Regions from separate parts of the Homo sapiens genome. Here regions 1, 2, 3, 4, 5 and 6 are each linked to region 7. Evidence: promoter capture Hi-C in 16 types of primary human blood cells and fetal thymus (Javierre and others, 2016). All regions are on one chromosome and are shown on one strand. The core of a region is centred on a gene start or on the middle of the fragment in contact, and the rest is flanking DNA. Distances in the headings are between cores, read along the strand shown. Region 1 has its middle 40 kb from the start of GPAT2. Region 2 has its middle 5.9 kb from the start of LMAN2L. Region 3 overlaps LMAN2L (lectin, mannose binding 2 like). Region 4 holds the start of CNNM3 (cyclin and CBS domain divalent metal cation transport mediator 3). Region 5 overlaps KANSL3 (KAT8 regulatory NSL complex subunit 3). Region 6 overlaps FER1L5 (fer-1 like family member 5). Region 7 holds the start of NCAPH (non-SMC condensin I complex subunit H).

Region 1 (2,864 bases), core at 125-2,624, 260 kb after region 7:
TACTTTCTGCTCAATTTTGCTGTGAACCTAAAACAGCTCTGAAAAATAAAATCTATTAACAAAGAAATAAACAATAATGTCTATTAACAACAAGCAAATGTAAACTCTAGATCTGAAAAATACAGAATCTAAAATGAAGTATTCACTTCATAGGGTTGACAACAGATTGGATACAAGCAGAAGAAAGGATCAATAACTCAAAGGCAGGTCAAACTAAGTTCTCCAAGTGGAAGCACGGAAAGAAACTAACAACAACAGAGCAGAGGAAGGGTCAGCAAACTGTGGGCCCATGGACCAAATTTGACCTGCTGCCTGCTATTGTAAATAAAGTTTTATGGATCCCAGACATACCAGACATTGTTTACAGAAAAGCTGAGTAGTTGTGACAGAGACCATATGGCCTGCAAAGCCTATATTAAGTCTTGCCCTTTAGAAAAGTTTGGCAACCCTTGTAATAGAGCATCAAAAGCTATCAAACAATATATTAAATGGCATGTTGTATGTATAACTGGAGTCCCAGAAGGAGAGGAGAATGAGAATGGAGCTTGACTAAATATTTGAAGAGAGAATGACTGAACACATCTTCATAAAACTCATGAAAGACGTCAACCCACAGATTCAAGAATAAAAATAACCCTAAACTACATAAATACAAGAAAGGCTATACCTAGAGATATCATCATCAAGCTAGAAAACAAAGGCAAAAAGATCTTAAAATCATCCAGAAAATACAATCAGGTTACATTTAGGGGAAACACAATAAGAATTGTAGCTGATTTCTCACTAGAAACAAAGGCAGCTAGAAGACAATTGAAGAACCACTTTAAAGGGTCTCAAGGAAAAATTCTGTGAGCTTAGAAGTCTATATCCAATAAAAATGTCATTCAAAAATAAAGGCCAAATTAAGGCATTTTTAGACAAACGAAAGCTTAAGGAATTCATTGCAACACTATAAATAGTACTAAAGGAATTTCTGAGGCCAAAGGGAGAGAATCTCAGATGGAAGCCCAGACTACCCAAAAGAAATAGAAAGGACCAGGAATTGTAAATATGTGGAAAATATAAGAGATTATCTTTTGTTTTTTACTTTAAAAAACACTTTTGGCCATTTAAAGCAAAATAATAAGCATGTGGAAGTAAAATATATAATAACACTAGTGCAACAGGCAGAGAGAGATCAATACAATTACACCGTTGCAAGTTCCTTTGATTATCTGGATGCAAGTGATGGTTACAGGTGTATGCATTTGTAGAAATGTATCAAGCTATAGCTTAGGATTTGTGTACTTCACTATATGTTAATTAGCCTGCACTTTAGTAAAGTACTGTTACCAAAGAAAGAGAATGGACACGACAGAGCTCTGTAGCCAAGTCAGGACTCACAGATGGAACAAATATTTATGTTTGTCACGGGAGAGTCAGGGCCTCCTGCTTGGCAGAGGCTGCTGAGAGCTGAAGATGGGGTTGGCTGGGGCTCAGCCCACCTCCTGCATTGCCGAGGAGGCAGCGTTTTCCTCTGTGACTGACTCCTGCTGGAGCCTTGGCTTTGTGGAGATCTGTGACAGGGCTTGGCCCATGAGATGAAGAGCCCAGAGGCCTGGCCTTCCTGTCCTGAGCCTGGTCCGCTTCTGGGGACCCTCTCCTACGGTGGAGAAAACCAGAATGTCATCCTGGAAGGGACTTCTGATTCAAGTACTTGATGGCTGCCATTTTATAGAGATGGGCTCTGGGGCTCAGAGTGAATACATTCTAGAAACTGGACTGGAAACCAGATCTCCTCTTTATACTGTAGCAGCTGTCTTGGGCCCATTCAAGCTTGTCCTTCCTAGGTCCACAGGTATTCCTCTCTCTGCTCTTTTCTTTAAAATCCTCATGCTACTAATGCTAAATAACTGCTGATAAAACTAATTCATACTAAAGTGTGAGTGACTGATTCCCTGTTAAAGTCTCCCCAAGAAAGGCATGCGTAGTAACCATGTCCAAGAAACCATTCTAATGGTGTGATCCCATTCAGCACCCAGGCTGAGGAGAAATGTTTTGGGATGAAGCAGGCAGAGGTGAGAAAGGGTTGCCAGTCTGGAGCTAGCATGGTGCAGGAGAGAAGGCAGGGTTCTGTCTTTGCCCGAACTCATCGGCTCATCTTGGCCACATTCTCTGACTTCCTTGGGTCTGTTTCTTCTGCTGTTAAATGAAGGCTGGACACTCAGATAGCCCAGGGCCCTTTAGCTCTCATGTCCCAGGCCTGTTCACTTACAGCCTTCTGGAGCTTTTGCTTTACAATAAGCAGTCCTCTGATCATCACTGGCTCTCACAATGTTCTTAGAAGCAGATTAGAGGCTTGGGTGTGTGGGTCTCTGTGTCACAGGTGAGGAAATGGGGCAGAGAGGGCAGGTCAGTGGCCCGGGGCCACTCTGTGGGATGCCACTGCATTCCTCCTCCTCCCCCAGCTGCCTCATGAACGGGGCTAAAGAAGCCTCCCCTTCCTGACAGAACCCACTGCTTCTCTGGTCAGCCCAGGACAGTGGAGCCCTCCCTGGGCAGGGGTGGGGGTGCAGAGCCAGCCCCACTCAAGTCCCCACGGGAAAGTACGGGGCCCCTGCCAGAGGAGCCCTTCCCTTTCATTCCTCCCCAATAGGAGGCCACCCCCAATGCCTTCACCAGCTCCCAAATGCCTCTCACCTCTGCACCTTCGAGCCTTTGCCCAGGAGCCCCCTCTGCCTGGATGTCCTTCCCTTCTTCTCTGCCCAGCACACTCCCACCAAAGCGGCCCCCCAAGGCAGGATGCAGCTCATGCTCCCAGTGGTGGACGGCTGTTCCGATCTTACCTAAGGGTTTCGCTTGCTGCCTGCAGCCTCCTCTGGGGG
Region 2 (2,993 bases), core at 144-2,643, 410 kb before region 7:
ACGCTCAGAAAATAGGCTTTATTTGAATAAAGTTATATGGAGATCTAACACAGGCTGCTTAGAAGCACTCTCTTTCCTGGACAGAACTGATACAACTCTGACTTATTTTCATCCCTTGACTGTTCTTTTTCTAGATTGCAGACGCCTCTCTCTTTAGTTATGACAACATTATATTGGATGGGTCACAATGAACTTTACTAGATTATAGTTAATTACAGTTTTCCTTCCCTCAGGGAAATTTAGAAAACACCACAAATGCATACCCAGCATATTTCCTCATCATCTCCACGGGAGACTTTGAGAAGCTTTTCCTTACGGCAACTCTCACACATCCATGAAGCTGGAGGGAGTGTTGTGCACCCCTATCTCAGCTGCAGCAGTTCTCAACATCCTGATGCTTTTTTTGTTTATCCATCCTACCCTTCTAAACACACACACACGATATTCCTCTAGAGTATCTTAAAGCAAATCTTTAATTCTTATCTTTAAATTCAGGAGTTGGAGCCTCTATGAACTGTTCTTGTCATTTTTTTTTTTTAAGAGATAGGGTCTTTCTCTGTCACCCAGGCTGGAGTGGAGTGGCCTGATCATGGCTCACTACAGCCTTGACCCCCGGGGTAAAATGTCGCAGCCTCCCAAGTAGCTGGGCCTACCGGCGCACACTAGCACACCCAGACAATTTTTTGTATTTTTTGTATTTTTTAGAGACGGGGTCTTACTATGTTGCCCAGGCTGGTGTCAAACTCCTGAATTCAAGTGATCCTCCTGCCTCGGCCTCCAAAGTGCTCGTACTGCAGGTGTGAGCCACTGAGCCCAGCCTGTCCTAATCTTAAAGATTACCACAACAAGTCATTGTGAGGTCAAAATGAGATACTGCATGTGAAAGGGCTGTAGTTCTGAAAACTGGGCTGCGTATTAAATTCTCTGGTGGAGGGTGGGGTGGGCACGATGGCTCATGCCTATAATTCCAACACTTTCGAGGGCCAAGGTAGTAGGATGCCTCGAGCCCGGGAGTTCAAGACCAGCCTGGGCAAATAGCAAGACATTATCTCTACAAAAAATAAAATAATAGCCAGGCATGGTGACACCTGACTGTATTCCAACTACTCAGAAGGCTAAGGCAGGAGGATCCCTTGAGCCCAGGAGTTTGAGCCAGGAGAATCCCTTGAGCCCAGGAGTTTGAGGCTGCAGTTCACACCACTGCACTCTAGCCTGGGTGACAGAACAAGACCCCATCTCTTAAAAGAAAAAAAAAAAGGCCAGGCATGGTGGCTCACGCCTGTAATCCCAGTACTTTGGGACGCTGAAGTGGGCGGATTGCTTGAACCCAGGAGTTCGAGACCAGCCTGGCCAACATGGTGAAACCCCGTCTCTACAAAAAATATAAAATTTAGCTGGGTGTGGTGGCATGTGCCTGTGGTCCCAGCTACTCAGGAGGCTGAGGTGGGAGGATGGCTTGAGCCTGGGAGGCAGAGGTTGCAGTGAGCTGTGATCACACCACTGCCCTCCACTGGGTGATAGAGTGAGACTCTCTCTCAAAAAAAAAAATTAAATTCTCCAGGTTTTATTTTTTTTTCTTCAAAGCTAAATCCCTACACTTGTTGAGTCACGTGTCTGGCAGTAGGGCTCAGGCAAAGGTACCTACCCCAGGATATTTGACTGTGGCTTTCAGGAGTCCAATGTTGAGAAGTCACCGCTGGGAAGTAGCTAGCTAGTTAGTGTTGGAGCTGCTATCCTCTTGTATGCTTCAGTGGCTACCTGGGGAACTGGAGGTACAGTTGGTAGGACCCGGTCAGCTGTGACTATTGGGCTGAAGATGGACCTGACACACTGGATACCTGAGGATGGATGGATGGTTGTACTTGGCCTAGGGAGGGCTGCTTCTGTCCTGGGAGGGGGTGGATCAGAATTGAATGGCAAGGTTTGTAAAAGAAGGGTGAGAAGCAGTGGAAAGAATAGGCCAAGAGGCTGCCCTGGAGCCTCTGTCATGGGGTGAAGGGGCATCAGGCTTCAAGGTGCTCCTGAGTGGAGGTACTTCTTTGGTTGTTGTTGTTTTTAATTTTTTAAAAGGGACAGGGTCTCAACATCTTGCCCAGGCTGATCTTGAACTCCTGGGCTCAAGCGATCCTCCCAAAGTGCTAGAATTACAGGCATGAGCCACTGCGCCCAGCCCTGCTCTTTGGTTTGGAAGACAGGAAGGTAGAGGAATCATGCAGAACTGCTGGAATGCACAACTCACATTGCATATGAATACCCCGGCCCTGAAGTTGTGCAGCCCTAGATCGTGGGAGATAGATGATTCCACAGAGAAAAAGGGGACCACTAGGCAGCTGAAAGGATGGTAGCGCAAGACCTGAGCCAGCTTTCGGAGGTGCCTCTGCGTGTGAGTAAAAGGTGGCGTTGAAGGGGCCATGGCTACTTGTTCTCTTTCCCACTACCACCCCTCAACACCTTGACTGTGTTGAACTTAGCTGAAGCTTGTGCTTCTGAAAAGCACCTACAGTAAAGAAATTCCCCATCCTTTTGTCTTCCTTCCATCTCACTTTGTAGACTCCGTTGTCCAGGCTGGAGTATAGTGGCGCGATCTTGGCTCACTGCAACCTCTGCCTCCCAGGCTCAAGAGATTCTCATATCTCAGCCTCCCAAGTAGCTGGGATTACACACACGTGCCATGATGCCCGGCAAATTTTTTATGTATTTTTAGTAGAGACAGGGTTTCACCATGTTTGTTGGCCAGGCTGGTCTTAAACTCCTGACATATGATCTGTCCGCCTCAGCATCCCAAAGCGCTGGGATTACAGGCATGAGCCACTGCGCCCAGCTGAGAGATGGCTGTCTTAACGGACTACCCTGCTCTGGAATATCCCAAGATAAGACCCACTTCCACCCTTCCTCAGTGACTCAGATAAGACCCTCTCCATCCTTCCTCTCACGAAAGATCCCTTGTTTACCTGGATTACCCCAGGTCTCCTTCCTTTTGTTTTGCTTTGAGA
Region 3 (3,086 bases), core at 449-2,948, 390 kb before region 7:
ACCCTGTCTCAAAAATGAAATAAAGTAAAAAAAATTATTGGAGGAAATTAAAGAAGATCCATGTAAATGGAAAGATGTTCTATGGCATGGATTGGAAGACTTGGTATTGTTAAGATAGCAGTACTCCCCACATTGCTCTATGCAGTCCCTACCTCTCAAAAACTTAGCTGGCTTCTTGGCAAAAATTCACAAGCTGATCTTAACATCCATATGGAAATTCAAGGGACTCAGAATAACCAAAATAATCTTGACAAACAGTGAAGTTGGAATGCTCACACTTCCTGATTTCAAAACTTACTACAAAGCTACAATAATAAAGACAGTGTGCTACTGGCATCTGGGTAGACATACAGATCAATGGAATAGAACTGAGAGTCTGGAAATAAAACGTCACATTTAATCAATTAATTTTCTTTTTCTTTCTTTTTTTTTTTTGAGACAGAGTCTCGCTCTGTCTCCCAGGCTGGAGTGCAGTGGCACGATCTCGGCTCACTGCAAGCTCTGCCTCCTGGGTTCACGCCATTCTCCTGCCTCAGCCTCCCGAGTAGCTGGGACTACAGGTGCCTGCCACCACGCCTGGCTATTTTTTTTTTTAATATATATGTTTTTAGTAGAGATGGGGTTTCACCATATTAGCCAGGATGGTCTCGATCTCCTGATCTCGTGATCCACCCGCGTCGGCCTCCCAGTGTGCTGGGATTACAGGCGTGAGCCACCGTGCCCGGTCTAATCAATTAATTTTCCACAAGATAATTCAATGGGGAAAGAATCATCTTTTCAACAACTAGTTATCCACGTGTAAAATAATGAAGTTATTCCCTATTTCACACCACACAGAAAATTTAACTCGAAATGGATGAAAGATCTAAATGTAAAAATTAAAACTATAAAACTTTTAGAAAAAAAAAATATCGGATTGATTCTTCTTGACTTTGGATCAGGCAGTTGTTAGATGTGACACCAAAAGAAAAAGCAACGAAAGAAAAGGATAAATTGAACTTCATCAAAATTGAAACCTTACGTGTTTCATAGGACATCATCAAGGAAATGTAAAGAACCTACAGAATGGGAAAAGATATATGCAAATCATATCTTATTAGAGATTTGTTTGAAACGTAAAGAACTATTACAACTCAATAGTAAGACAACCAAATTAGAAAATGGGCAAAAGATCTTAATAGGTATTTCTCTAGAAGAGATATACAAGTGGCCAAGAAGCTTGAAAAGAGGCTGAGCATCATCAGCCATCAGGGACATGCAAATTAAAACCATAAGACACTACTTTACACCCGCTAGAATGGCTAAAATAAAAAAGATTAGAAGTGTTGGCAAGGATATGGAGTAATTGGAACCCTCATAGACTGCTGGTGGGAATGTAAAATGGTGTAGTTGCTTTGGAAAAGTTTGACATTTCTTCAAATGACTAAACATAGACTTTACATGATCTAGCAATTCCACTCATAGGTGTGTACCTAAGAGAAATGAAAACATCTACACAAAACTTTTTTTTTTTTGAGATGGAGTCTTGCTCTGTTGCCCAGTATGAAGTGCAGTGGCGTGATCTCAGCTCACTGCAACCTCTGCCTCCTGGGCTCAAGTGATTCCCCTGCTTCAGACTTCCAAGCAGCTGGGATTACAGGCGCCTGCCACCACGCCTGGCTAATTTTTACATTTTTAGTAGATACGGGTTTTGCCATGTTGGCCAGGCTAGTCTCAAACTCCTGACCTCAAGTTATCCGCCCGCCTTGGCCTCCCAAAGTGCTGGGATTATAGGCATGAGCCACTGCACCCGGCCTACACAAAAACTTTTATATGAATGTTCATAGCAGCATTATTCATAATAGCCAAGAAATGGATACAACTTAAATGTCCATCAACTGATTAGAGCAGGGGTCCCCAACCTGTTAGGAACCAGGCTGCACAGCAGGTGAATGGTGGGCGAGCAAGTGAAGCATTATCTGTATTTACAGCTGCTCCCCATTGCTCTCATTACTGCCTGAGCTCCGCCTCCTCTCAGATCAGTGGTGGCATTAGATTCTCATAGGAGCAGGAGCCCTCTTATGAACTGAGCATGCGAGGGATCTAGTTTTCTCCTTAGGAGAATTTAATGCCTGATGATCTGTCACTGTCTCCCATCACCCCCAGATGGGACTATCTAGTTGCAGGAAAACAAGCTTAGGGTTCCCGCTGATTTCTACATCATGGTGAGCTGTATAATTATTTCATTATATATTATAACGTGATAATAATAGAAATAAAGTACACAGGCCGGGTGCGGTGGCTCACGCCTGTAATCCCAACACTTTGGGAGGCCAAGGTGGGCGGATCACGAGGTCAGGAGATTGAGGCCATTCTGGCTAACACGATGAAACCCCGTCTCTACTAAAAATACAAAAAAATTAGCCGGGCGTGGTGGCGGCCACCTATGGTCCCAGCTACTCGGGAGGCTGAGGCAGGAGAATGGCGTGAACCTGGCAGGCGGAGCTTGCAGTGAGCCAAGATCGCGCCACTGGATTCCAGCCTGGGCAACAGAGTGAGACTCCGTCTCAAAAAAAAAAGAAAGAAAGTACACAATAAATGTAATGTGCTTGAATCATCCCGAAACCACCCCCCCTCCAACTCCCCGGTTCATGGAAAAATTGTCTTCCAGGAAACCAGTCCCTGGTGCCAAAAAGGTTGAGGACTACTGGATTAGAGGATAAACAAAATGTGATATATTGTTATAATGGAAATATCAGCAATGAAAATAAGTATCACTGGGTGTGGTGGCTCGTGCCTATAATCCCAACACTTTGGGAGGCCAAGGTGGAAGGATTGCTTGAGTCTAGGAGTTTTAGATCAGCTTGGGCAACATAGGGAGACCCCATCTTTACAAAAAACAAAAAAAATTAGCTGGTCCCAGCTACTTTGCAGGCTGAGGCAGGAGGATTGCTTGAGTCCAGGAGGTCAAGGCTGTAGTGAGCTATGATTGCCACTGCACTGTAGCCTGGGCGATGGAGCAAGACTGTCTCAAAAAAAAAACAAAGTAGGAGTAATTGCCAGGCACAGTGGCTTACACTTGTAATTCTAGCACTTTAGGAGACCAA
Region 4 (3,031 bases), core at 202-2,701, 480 kb before region 7:
TCTAAAGGATTCCTCCCACTCTGATCGATGGCCTTTAAGTATTTCAAAAGGTCATTCCAAGCTGCAAGGCCAATACCGTCTTGAAAAGGGACCTTAGAGGTCTCACTGCTCTCCACAGGGGTGGGACCCTTTCCAGAAGGCTTCCATAACTCTCCACCCCTTTTCAGGGAGAGGGCACTCGCACGGGCGTCCCCTGCACCATGCCCGGGCCGTTACCTCGCTTGAATTCCTCCAGGACAGCGTCCAGCTTGGTGTCGTTGAAGACGAAGTGGAGCGGATGGTTGTAGAAACGAGTGATGGTGCTGAGCGGCGTGCAGTCTTCGGGATCCACGAAGGCCAAGTCCTTGAGGTAGAGCATGTCCACGATGTTGGAGCGCTCCTCCTCGTACACCGGGATGCGCGTGTGGCCGCTCTGCATGATGCTGGCCAGGACGCCGAAGTCCAGCACGGTGCTGGCGTCCAGCATGAAGCAGTCTTCGAGGGGCGTGAGCACGTCCTCCACGGTCCGGCAGCGCAGCACGCCCTTGCTGAGATCGCTGTAGGGGTCGCCGCCGCCGCGCGCCAGCTCCAGCACCCGCTCCCGCAGCCGCCCGGGCCGCGCCGCCAGCTCCAGCAGCTGCCCCACGGGCAGCGCGACGGGCAGAGTGAGCAGGACGGCCAGGCGGCTGAGGCCGAGCGCTCGCGGCGCCAGCGCCAGCGTCCAGCGCCCGCTCACGGCGGCCGGCACCACCTCTCCCACCAGGAACACGAGCCCCGCGCTGCCCAACACGGCGGGCACCGCACGCTGGCCGGCCGCGCGGTACAGCAGCACCGCCAGCGCCGCCTGCGCCAGGCTGGCCAGCAGCAGCAGCGCGCCCAAGGCGCAGCCGGCCCAGCGCCGCGCGGGCTCCAAACGCCGCGCCGCCGCACGCTCCGCCTCCGAGCCGCTCTCGCGCAGCACCTGCACCTCGGCAGGCGCCAGCGCCAGCGCGCTCAGCTGCAGGCCTCGCGCCAGCGCTGCCAGCGCCAGCAGCCCGGCCGCCCCCAGGCCCAGAGCCCAGGGCGGCGCCGCCTCCTCAGCCGCCCCGCCACCCGGCTCCACGCGCACCGCCAGCAGCGCCGAGTGCGGGCGCACGGCCTCGGCCCGCAGGCGCAAGCGCAGCAGCGCGCGCCACTCGCCCGCGGGGGAGGCCGCCTCCTCCCGGCAGCCCGCCCCCTCCGGGGCCACCCAGGACCAAGAGCTGTTGGCGAAGCCCGGGCCGAAGAGGCGCAGGAGGAAGGTGGCGTCCGGCGTGTCCCGCGCCGCCCCTCCGCGTACCCAACCCGCGCCCGCCGCTCCATCCTCCTCCAGGCAGAAGCCCAGCACTCGCGGGCCCGGCGCGGCCTCCCCCGCGGCGTTGCCCAGGCAGAGCGCGGCGAACAACCAGCCTAACCGACCCGCCGCAGCTACCGCCGCCGCCATCGCCTGCTGCCCCCTCTCGGCCTCTCGCGCAGCCTACCCCGCTCGCCCCGCGCCTCCCCGGGCCAATCGTTACGGCTCTTCGCGCCTCCTCGGCCAATAGGCGGTGGGCGGGGGCGGGCCCCAGGGTCGGACTAGGCTGCGCCGGGGAGTAAACAAGTGGCGGCCAGGGGCGGGCCGGGGGCGTGGGGCTCCGGGCCCCGCCGAGTCTGCTGCGGCTCCGGATGCGCGGGGTGGCAGTGGCCGGGAGGACGCGGGGCGGCGGGCAGGGCCTCCCAAGCCCGGCTGTCCTCGGCCCGTGCGCGGCGCCCGGAGTCCCACTCCTCCCGATGCTGTCCCCCGCGCCCGGAGGCCGAGCCAATTCTCTGGGAAGTTCCCGGCTTGGGAGCGGAGCGGCCGGTCGGAAGAACCTCGGGTGCTGGCGCGCCTGAAGTTGCAGACCAGACTGAAATGTGCGAGACATGTGCCTTTTTCTTAGGAAAGGCCCCAGGTACCAGAAAGGTTTTCAGCGCGCCGACCTACGGGGCTAAGAGGGCTGAAATAAGAACCAGTGACTGAGCGCCGGGAGGTTTAAGGTTTATGGAAGATGTTCATCGCGCCGTACCCTACTAGAGGTTTGGGGACGTGGGACACAGCCCCTGCGTTCCCGCCGCGGACCCCGTGATAAATACACAGACACACAAAATCACTACCGCCTTGAATCTGGACAGCTACCTCAGGTGGTTAATATCTAACAGGAGCAGAGTGGAGCTCAGAAAGACTCAGCGTGGGTGCTGGGTTCCGGCGCGACCAGCCTGATACCTAGGTCAGCATCTCAGCCACACAAGCAGGCGGCAGTTCTGTCAGGAATTACTACATCTGGTGATTCCACTTCTCATAGCTCACCGCTGGGAGAATAATTCCTCAGGATTAACAAGATCTATTCCAGAGGATCCTCACTGCTGAAGCGATTTTAGAAGACAGTGTGGTCTGTTGACAGTATGGAATATTCTTTACCCATCAGATATGATCTGTATGTGATTGGAAGGAAATAAACCAACTGCTAACAACACTTCTCTATAGATGTTCAGATTCAGTAATTTTTGTATTTTTCTCTACACTTTTGTTTTTTCAAATTTCCTAGCACAAGAAGACTTTGACTTACTGCACATGTCATTTTAAATGACCTTTATAAAGACTCTATAGAAACAATTTGCTATGTCATGAAAGTAACAATCAAAAAAAGTATGCACATTGTGGCCACAAAGTAAAACTTGTGTGGAAGGTAATGTGCAAAAAAAAAAAAAAATGAGTAAGCTGGTGGTGAGTGACCAAAGGAAAAGGCTTTGTAAAAAACTTTTTTTTTTTTTTTTGAGACGGAGTCTCGCTCTGTCACCCAGGCTGGAGTGCAGTGACGCAGTCTCGGCTCACTGCAAGCTCCGCCTCCCGGGTTCACGCCATTCTCCTGCCTCAGCCTCTCCGAGTAGCTGGGACTACAGGCGCCCGCCACCACGCCCGGCTAATTTTTTTGTATTTTTAGTAGAGACGGGGTTTCACCGTGGTCTCGATCTCCTGACCTCGTGATCCACCCACCTTGGCCTCCCAAAGTGCTGG
Region 5 (3,021 bases), core at 199-2,698, 280 kb before region 7:
CCACCCACCTTGGCCTCCCAAAGTGCTGGGATTACAGACTCCTGGCCAAAGTTTGAAATTTTTATGTAGTTACATTTCTCTTTCTTCCTTTTATGTCTTCTTTTTCTTCCATCTGAAATTTGATGTAGAATGATATGTAGGGATCAGATTTTCTTTTTCCAGTTGTGGTTGTCTCAGCCCTACATTTAGGGACTTTATCCAGACTGATTTGAAATGCTACCTTGATCCCATTCCAGGGTCTCATTTGGGTGTAGCACCCAGGTAATTTTTTATTTTTATTTTTATTTTTTTTGAGACAAGGCCTCACTGTCACTGAAGCTTTGAGTGCAGTGGCATGATCACGGCTCACTGCAGCCTCAACCTCCTGGGCTCAAGCGATTCTCCCACCTCAGGCTCCCGAGTAGCTGGGGCTACAGGCACGCACCACCATGCCCAGCTAATTTTTGTATTTTTTTTAGAGATGGGGTTTTGCCATTTGCACAGACTGGTCTTGAATTCCTGGACTCAAGCGATCCACTCCACTTGGCCTCCCAAAGTGCTGGGATTATAGGCGTGAAGCACTGCGCCTGGCCACCATCAGCTTTTTTTTAAGGCAGGGAGAATAGGAAAACACATATTAATAGAGCATCTTCAATTGCCTTTCTTTTGGTATCTTTAGGAAGGTCACTAGCCAGAGTTAGAGCATCTGAGTAATTAAGATTGCTGGGAGTGGGGTGAAGGGGGACAATAATAAGCTCCATATCACTAAACTGGGTGTGATGAGGTGGAGATAAGAACAGTAGGATAGATGTCTGCAACACACAAAGCCTCAGTAAGTAATAGGTAAGCAATAAGCAATAAGGTAGATGTGTGAATACCAGTGCCGTATGCTGGGATGATAACATATTAGCTTATATGGAGCAGGCCTCTCAAAAATAAATTTGCTAATTGTGTGGCATATAGAAAAAATACAAAAAATATATATGGAAAAGAGAGATTAGTGTGGGGTAGAATATTGAGGAGTGGAAGAATAGCCTCTTTATTGGTTATATTTCTGCTATATTTTTGTTCTTAAGCCTAGTTTAAATAGAATTCTTACCTCAGTCTGAGATTTTAGTACATTAAAATGCTTGCTGATCCTGTCTGCCTTTTTGTGTGAAATATAAAACTTATGAAATTCAAATATGTCGTCTGTTCAGTGGTGCTGTGCGTTTATTTATGATTGGAATAATTTTAGCTACTAAGTAAGTAATTAGCTTTGCTAGCCTGAAAGACTTTTTTCATGACTAGTCTTGACTTGTACTGTGTATATTATTGTGTGTATGTGTGTATTATTAATACAAGTGTGTGCTGTGACGATTTGATTTGGTAGGATTGAGACCAGAAGAATCTAGGTCTTGTGTTTTAGGTCAGTGGTCTTAGACTAAGCTACTTCGTTTTACTGTTCCCTAGCAGAGACATAAAACTATGGCATAATCTTCTTTATATGGTGTACATACATGGGGAGCGTCCCCAGGGTTTGACTATAATTCCTCAGAGTTTCCCTTATAGGACTGGCTGGACAATGGCCCAGAACAAGCTATTCAACAAGATCCTCAAAGCCCTGCAGTCTGACCGGCTTGCCCGCTTGGCCAACGAAGGGGTAAGACACCAGCAATCCGCCCACAGTGGGCTCTTCGTAGTTCAGGCCTCACTGGCTGACTGACTTGTCCCCCTGCTTGTTAACCAGGTAGTCCTCATGTTTTATTACTTCCACTTACATCCTTCAGGCTTGTAATGAGCCAGTGCTGCGCCGTGTTGCTGTGGACAAGTGTGCAAGGAGAGTGCGGCAGGCTCTGGCAAGTGTGAGCTGGGATACCAAGCTGATCCAGTGGCTGCACACCACCCTTGTGGAGACCTTGAGTCTGCCCATGCTGGCAGCCTACCTGGATGCTTTGCAGACGCTGAAGGGGAAGGTAAGGCTGTGATTGGGGTCTGCCCTGTCCTAGGGATAGCCATCCTCCCCTGTGGGTTCAGGATGTGGGGTTAGGCAAAGTAATTATCTGGTCGGTCTGGAGTGCATGGCCAAAACTAATGGGTTTGGTACTAAAATTGGGAGACAGGGTATCATTTCACATTTGTGTCTGGTGTAAACGTTTTCAGCCCTGCTGGCTCCAGGATGAGGTATGGGGCCTGAAAACCAGAGTATACATTTAGCCTTCCTAGCCTTGCAGCTTGTGGTTTGAGTCATGGCTGAATTGAATTATCATGAAGGAGACGAAGGGTTTACCAGGGAAGAGTTTGTTGAGAAAGGTGACAGAAGCAGACCCTTGGTGCTCGGAGCACTGGGAGATTGCAGAGCAGGAACGTGCCGTGATGCCTTCAATTCTGCTCCCCAGGGCATGAGCCTTTAGTAGCAACACTTAGACTTTTATAATTCAGTACAAACATATCATTATAGTTCCCTGCTTTCTTACTTAGTATTGCACAAAGTTAAACTGTTTTTCTTGGTGATTCCAGTGATTGCATCAGGCTATCGTCAATGTGGTAGAATGCGGATGCTGGAGGCAGATTGCCTGGCTGATCTCAGCTTTGTTACTGATTAGCTGTGTAAGCTTGGACTGGTGTCTCATCTCTAAAATGTGGCTGATAATAATAGCTATCTAGGATTTTTATGAAAATTAAATTAGTTAATTCAGGTAGGGGGCTTAACACAAAATTGGGCACATAGTAAGCAGTGAGCCCACAGTAATTATTATTACTAATATTAACAGTTATTTAAGTAGTACCCTCATAGGTTCTTGAAATATTTGGGGTGTTTTGCTCCAATACAAAATGGCCTCACGGCCGGGCATAGTAGCTCATGCCTATTATCCTAGCACTTCGGGAGGCTGAGGCAGGAGGATCGCTTTAGCTCAGGAGTTTGAGACCAGCCTGAGCAACATAGCAAGACCTTGTCTCTACTAAAAATAAAATAATTAGCCAGGCATGGTGGCACACGTCTGTAGTCCCAGCTAGTTAGGAGGCTGGTGGGAGGAGGCTGTAGTGAGTTCAGTCCCACCA
Region 6 (2,727 bases), core at 2-2,501, 330 kb before region 7:
AACAGGTAGGGAGTCGCGGGTCTGGGAGCAAGTCCTGGCTCAGTTACCAGTGAGCCACTTCATCATAGAAAAGCTGGATTTTGAACCAAGCGAATCGAGCTTTGGCTTTAGGGCCTCTTGTTTTCTGGGGGTTTGCTTTGTTTTGTTTCAGACAGGGTGCTGCTCTGTCACCTAGACTGGAGTGCAGTGGCATGATCATAGCTCACTACAGCCTACACCTCTCAGGCTCAAACGATCCTCCCGCCTCAGCCTCCTGAGTAGCTGGGACTACAGGCACCTGCCATCAGGCCCAGGTAATTAAAAACAATTTTTTTTTTTTTGTAGAGACAGGTGCCTTACTATGTTGCCCAAGCTGGTCTCGAACTCCTGGGCAAAAGCAATCCTCCTGCGTAGGGCTCTCAAAATGTTGGGATTAGAGGTGTGAGCCACCTCGCCCAGCTGGGCCTCCCATTTGAATAGGCCCCTTGCAAGGTCCTGAGAGGGGCCTGGAACTTGTCACATGATCGTTTTGTATTTTTGTCTTTAAAATGGCCCTCTGGACAAGCATGGTGGCTCACACCTGTAATCCCAGCACTTTGGGGGGCTGAAGCGGGCAGATCACTTGAGCAGCCTGGGCAACATGATGAAATCCTCTCTCTACAAAAAATACAAAAATTAGCTGGGTGTGGTGGCACTCACCTATAGTCCCAGCTACTCAGGAGGCTGAGGTGGGAGGATTGCTTGAGCCCGTGAGGTTGAGGCTACAGTGAACCATGATCGTGCCACTGCACTCCAACCTGGGTGACAGAGTGAGACCTTGTTTCAAAAAAGAAAAAAAAGTCCCCTAATTGCATAAGCTTCAGGCCCCTCTGACACCTGAGTCTGCCCTGACTGTGGGCTGGTAGATATTACTGTCCTCATACAGCCCCTCGCAGTCTGAATGCACATTCACCAAACCATCTCATGGAGAGGCCGTGGGCCTAGAATGTCTTCATCATGTCTAGCCATCAACTTTTTAAACAGCAGTATATCTGTCTCCTCAAAGAATAAATAATAAACCAGGCATGGTGGCACATGCCTGTAATCCCAGCACTTTGGGAGGCCGAGGCGGGCAGATCACCTGAGGTCAGGAGTTCAAGATCAGCCTGGCCAACATGGAGAAACCCTGTCTCTACTAAAAATACAAAATTAGCCGGGTGTGGTGGCGCATGCCTGTAATCCCAGCTACTCGGGAGGCTGAGGCAGGAGAATCACTTGAACCCGGGAAGAGGAGGTTGCAGTGAGCTGAGATCGTGCCATTGCACTCCAGCCTAGGCAACAAGAGCGAAACTCCGTCTCAAAAAAAAAAAAAAAAAGAATAAATAATAATAGCTGCCTCTTTAGGAGGTTTCTGTTGCCCCTGGCTTGTGCTAAACAAATTCCATAGACCAGCTGAGTGGGCTCTCCTAAAAACCTCATGAACCAGGTGCTATTATTATTCCCATTTTCATATGGGAAAGCTGAGATCAGAGAGGTTGAGTTCCTGAAGTTCTCATGCTACATGCAGTTGCCAAAACCACTCTGCTGTAACCCCTTGAGGACTGTGATTGTCCCTATAAAGAGATGGGGAATCAGGCCTAGAGAGGCAGAGGGACTTGCTCAAGGTCACATAGTAAGGGGTGGAGTCAGGATTCCTACCCAAGCTTCTGTGTCCCATCTCCACTCTGCATTATGGTTTCCTCAATTATTTTTAAAAAGAAAGAAAGAAAAGAGGCCAGATGCGGTGGCTAATGCCTGTAATCCCAGTACTTGGGAGGCTGAAGTGGGAGGATCACTTGAGGCCAGGAGTTCAAGACCAGCCTGGACAACATATTGAGACCCCCATCTCTACCAAAAATACAAAAAATCAGCTGGGCATGGTGGCTCATGCATGTAGTCCCAGCTACTCAGGAGGCTGAGGCACAAGAATTGCTTGAACCCAGGAGGTGGAGGTTGCAGTGAGCTGAGATTGCGTCACTGCAGTCTAGCCTGGGCAACAGAGCAAGACTGTCTAAAAAAAAAAAATAAATAAATAAAAGAAAAAAATCCATGTGTCCATGTGTAAAATAGAGCTGCTGGGTTGAGGCCAGAGTGGGACCCCAAATCCTCAATCCTCTCAGCTGGGGCCTCTTCTCCTTACAGCAGTTCTTGGGATGTGGCTGGGAACCTCCCAGCTTTCCATTTTCTTCATCCCATTCTCCCTGGGTCCTGACAGCTAAGGGGCCAAGGAGAAGAGGAAAGGGCTTTCCAGGTGAGCAGCTAGTCAGTAAGAAAGGAGGAAATTGCCCAGGTTAAGGAAGGACATTGGAAGGGGAGAGATCGGCACCAGAAGGCATCCAGGTCTTCCAAAGTTAGGAGTCCTCCAAGTTCAGATTTATGGCGGAACCACCTTTCCATCCATCCTGCTAATAATTCTCCTCCTGCTTCTTGGTTCCTCATCTAGTGTGCTGCCTCCCCTTCTGCCCTGGGGCCCTCGGACTGACCATTGGTACAGGCCAGTTTTCTGCAGTGCCCTGGGCTCTGCTCCCCTTCTGACCACCTGGCCTCAGATGCTGCCATCTGTGTGGCTGGCTGTTCTGCCTCTTCAGAGAGAGGTTCACACCTGCCTGCTGCATTTCCAAAGGGCTAAAGGCAATCAGGCCAGTATCCAAAGGGCCCCACCCTGGAGACTGTGTTCTGGGGAAAATGGATGAGGTTCCAGGGGTGTTTGAACATCTTCAAATGTTGGAA
Region 7 (3,079 bases), core at 271-2,770:
AGAGGATACCTTAACAGAAATAGGAAGCACTTAAGGAGAACCTTGTCTAAGAGAGAAACTAAACTTGGAATTAGAGGCATGCTTTAATTCTCCAAATCTTCTTTCCGTGGTTTCTCTCCTTGCCTTTGATATTATGCATCCATTCATTCAACCGATGGTTACTGAGCTCAAAGACACTTCCTATGTCTACTTCCTCATTTCCCACTCATTTTTCAACCCACTCTGGTCTGGTTCCTATTCCAACTTCATGAGAACTATCTTTTCGTGATCATCTATAACTTCCATGTTGCCTAAACCCTATGGTCATTTTCTGGCCTTTCTCTTGGAATCCAGCAGCATTTGAAACAGCTGACAGTCCCTTCCTTGTTGAAACACTCTTGGCTTCTTCCTATACCACTGTCTTTTGAGTTTTTCCAGCTCATCCTTCTCTATCCAGCTTCTAAACGTTGGTCCTAGATGTGCAGGGCCTTCCTAGTGTTCTCACCTGTTCCCATGGTTTTATGGTCTAATGGTCTATATGATAATGGTATCCAAATTTATTTCTCAATCCATGGGTCACTTCCCTGAGTGGTCCATATAACTCCCCTGAGAGCCAAATTCTCACCTAAGTGATTATAGATCCCTTCACCTGAGTCTCTCCCGTAAGTCACACATACCATGTCCAAAATGTAACTCAATTTCCAAATCTCTTACCCAAGGCCTCCAGACCCTGCCTACGTGTCAGGCCTCACTAAGCTTGGTCACAATGTTCTGGTCAGGTCCTAGGCCAGGCCAGGCTCTTCCCTGCCTCATTTTTGTACTTGCTCCTTCTGCCTGAAACACGTTCCCTAGTATCTGCCTAAAGATCTTCCCTGAACCCCTGGCGGAGCCACCCCTACTCTGCTATACTCAATCACAGCACTCAGCCTCATGTGTAATTATTTCTTTTGTTTACTGTCTGTCTCCCCAACTCCAACAGTATAGAGATATTATCAATTTTGTTCGCCCAACGGGAGAGCTCAGTACTTTTGAATAGATGCAAAAATAAATGCATGCATGCTAAGCATACAACGGTAACCACATCGCTTCCAAAGCCCTGAAAATAACGTCTATTCCAGGAAAACCACCATTTTAATGGAGAGACACCGAGCACGCTTTAGGAGCCCAAGGAGGAGGCCGCCCCACCGCCCGCCCGGGAACTGAGGAGTGTGAGGCAGGGCCCGCGCGCTCTCCGACTCCGGCCGAAGCCGCTTTCTGATTGGCTGAGCGCACAAGGTCCGCCCGCCCCGCGCCGGCCCTCCCCTCCCCCCGCACCGGCCTCTGCTGTCAGCCGCAGGGCCAAGACCCGAGCTGAGCATATCCTCTCTCCCCGCCCAGGCCAGCCCGCCAGCCCTGCCCGCCCGAAGTACTGCTTCGCTAGGGGCCCTTCCCGCCGCGCCTCCCGACCGCCCGGCTCACCTGGGCCGGGAGGTCCCATCTTTCCTTGGCGTCTCCTGAGCTGGTTTTAAATCGCGCGCGTCGAGACGCCTGAGCGCCGTAACGGCCGCGTGACGTCGCCGGCGGGCCGGGCCAGCAGCGCGCCTGCGCAGACCACCTCGGGCCTCCGCGGGCGGCGTCAGAGTGAGTTTTGGGTTGAGGACCCCGTCTGATTGGGCTTCTTGGGGTCGGTGGACCCCCTGAAATAGTATGAAAACCCCCTCCTTCGAGGACTAGGTGCAGGACTGGGCTTGGGAACCCAGCGTCGAGCAGGGTGAGCAAGGCCCGTCTTTCGTGGAATTTACTTTCTTTTTTTTTTTTTTTTGGGACGAAGTCTAGCTCTTGTCCCCCAGACTGGAGTGCAGTGGCGCGATCTTGGCTCACTGCAACCTCCGCCTCCTGGGTTAAAGCGATTCTCCTGCCTCAGCCTCCCGAGTAGCTGGGATTACAGGCGCCTGCCACCACGCCTGGCCAATTTTTGTGTTTTTAGTAGAGACGGGGTTTCACCATGTTGGCCAGGCTGGTCTCGAACTCCTGACCTCAGGTGATCCGCCCACCTCGGCCTCCCGAAGTGCTGGGATTACAGGCGTGAGCCACCGCGCTCAGCCCGTGGAATTTACTTTATAATGGGGAGGCAGATGATCGAGAAAACGAGGTTTATTTCCCTTAGAGATCTGTGCTGTGTGGGCAGCAAAACGCTGAAAACCTCCGGGAAGAGGGACGGAGGGGAGCGGGAGCCTACGTGGGAATGAGGAGCGGTCCAGGTGGGGAAGAACTGATGCAGAAATGCTATGTATACATTAAATATAGTACAAAATGTACATTTAATATAGTGTAAGATGAAGGCCATCGTTTTATTCAGATTCTTGTGAATAGCTTCCTGTGAACACCCCCCACCCTTCAAAAAATAAATAAAGGTCGAAAAAGCGAAATAAGCATAAAATGCCATCTGTCCCCTCAGTTTCATCTAACCCTAAGGATTGAATTATGGGAGTAAAGGCCAGGGTGATTCCCTGGAATATCCCCAGCACATCCTAGAATTTCTTGTAACTCTCATATCTGGCATCTTTTACAGTGTTTCTCTTCAAGGGCACTGTTGGCATTCAGGGTGAAACAATCCTTGGCATGATAGGATGTTTGCCCTCTTTGTGGGCTCTTAAGCCCCCGTAACATCATTTGCCCACTAAATGCCATCAGTGCTGTCGCTCATTTTGGCAATCAAAAAGTGCCACCCTTTGTTGAAAACCACTTTTTTTTTTTTTTTTTTTGAGACAGAGTCTTGCTTTGTTGCCCAGGCTGGAGTGCAATGGCACGATCTCAGCTCACTGCAACCTCCACCTCCCAAGTTCAAGCGATTCTCCTGCCTCAGCCTCCTGAATAGCTGGGATTACAGGCGCCCACCACCACACCCAGCTAATTTTTGTATTTTTAGTAGAGATGGGGTTTCACCATGTTGGTCAGGCTGGTCTCGAACTCCTGACCTCAGGTGATCCACCCGCCTTGGCCTCTCAAAGTGTTAGGATTATAGGCATGAGCCACTGCGCCTGGCTGAAAACCACTTTTTAAGCCTATCTGTTGTTCGTATAAACTTGTTCTTCTAGTGACCACCTTCAAATCTTCAGCG

The links. Contacts are between HindIII fragments. The CHiCAGO score rates a contact against its expected background, and 5 or more counts as called.
Region 1: a fragment that was not itself captured here is called in contact with the fragment with the promoter of NCAPH in region 7 in 2 of 17 cell types (M0 macrophages and M2 macrophages); the score reaches 7.4 in M0 macrophages.
Region 2: a contact is called between a fragment that was not itself captured here and the fragment with the promoter of NCAPH in region 7, in 14 of 17 cell types (neutrophils, naive CD8 T cells, M1 macrophages and 11 more). The highest score is 13.0, in neutrophils.
Region 3: a contact is called between a fragment that was not itself captured here and the fragment with the promoter of NCAPH in region 7, in 2 of 17 cell types (naive CD8 T cells and naive CD4 T cells). The highest score is 6.0, in naive CD8 T cells.
Region 4: a contact is called between the fragment with the promoter of CNNM3 here and the fragment with the promoter of NCAPH in region 7, in 10 of 17 cell types (naive CD8 T cells, naive B cells, neutrophils and 7 more). The highest score is 8.7, in naive CD8 T cells.
Region 5: a fragment that was not itself captured here is called in contact with the fragment with the promoter of NCAPH in region 7 in 3 of 17 cell types (M1 macrophages, M0 macrophages and monocytes); the score reaches 5.9 in M1 macrophages.
Region 6: a fragment that was not itself captured here is called in contact with the fragment with the promoter of NCAPH in region 7 in 1 of 17 cell types (monocytes); the score reaches 5.5 in monocytes.

The regions. Positions count from the first base shown.
Region 1 is chr2:96,073,029-96,075,892 of GRCh38, reverse strand. No RefSeq gene overlaps it. Among named protein-coding and RNA genes, the nearest start is that of GPAT2, 40 kb to the right of the region's middle. The HindIII fragment of the contact is 887 bases long and covers 931-1,817 here.
Region 2 is chr2:96,744,516-96,747,508 of GRCh38, reverse strand. No RefSeq gene overlaps it. Among named protein-coding and RNA genes, the nearest start is that of LMAN2L, 5.9 kb to the right of the region's middle. The HindIII fragment of the contact is 2,172 bases long and covers 308-2,479 here.
Region 3 is chr2:96,721,448-96,724,533 of GRCh38, reverse strand. All of the region lies in intron 4 of LMAN2L (lectin, mannose binding 2 like), which reads left to right. Among named protein-coding and RNA genes, the nearest start is that of LMAN2L, 17 kb to the left of the region's middle. The HindIII fragment of the contact is 956 bases long and covers 1,221-2,176 here.
Region 4 is chr2:96,814,688-96,817,718 of GRCh38, reverse strand. CNNM3 (cyclin and CBS domain divalent metal cation transport mediator 3) reads right to left here and starts at 1,451. Exons shown (of 8, transcript NM_017623.5): 1 at 217-1,451. The coding sequence starts at 1,441. RefSeq lists silencers at 595-704, 715-854, 865-1,844 and an enhancer at 2,185-2,304. The HindIII fragment of the contact is 9,370 bases long and covers 1-3,031 here.
Region 5 is chr2:96,618,272-96,621,292 of GRCh38, reverse strand. KANSL3 (KAT8 regulatory NSL complex subunit 3) reads left to right here. Exons shown (of 21, transcript NM_001115016.3): 4 at 1,531-1,621; 5 at 1,749-1,934. Among named protein-coding and RNA genes, the nearest start is that of KANSL3, 19 kb to the left of the region's middle. The HindIII fragment of the contact is 2,255 bases long and covers 321-2,575 here.
Region 6 is chr2:96,665,955-96,668,681 of GRCh38, reverse strand. The region is part of intron 14 of FER1L5 (fer-1 like family member 5); the gene reads right to left. Among named protein-coding and RNA genes, the nearest start is that of FER1L5, 25 kb to the right of the region's middle. The HindIII fragment of the contact is 825 bases long and covers 839-1,663 here.
Region 7 is chr2:96,334,207-96,337,285 of GRCh38, reverse strand. NCAPH (non-SMC condensin I complex subunit H) reads right to left here and starts at 1,520. Exons shown (of 18, transcript NM_015341.5): 1 at 1,438-1,520. The coding sequence starts at 1,456. RefSeq lists enhancers at 364-1,205, 1,206-2,047 and a silencer at 1,126-1,445. The HindIII fragment of the contact is 5,174 bases long and covers 738-3,079 here.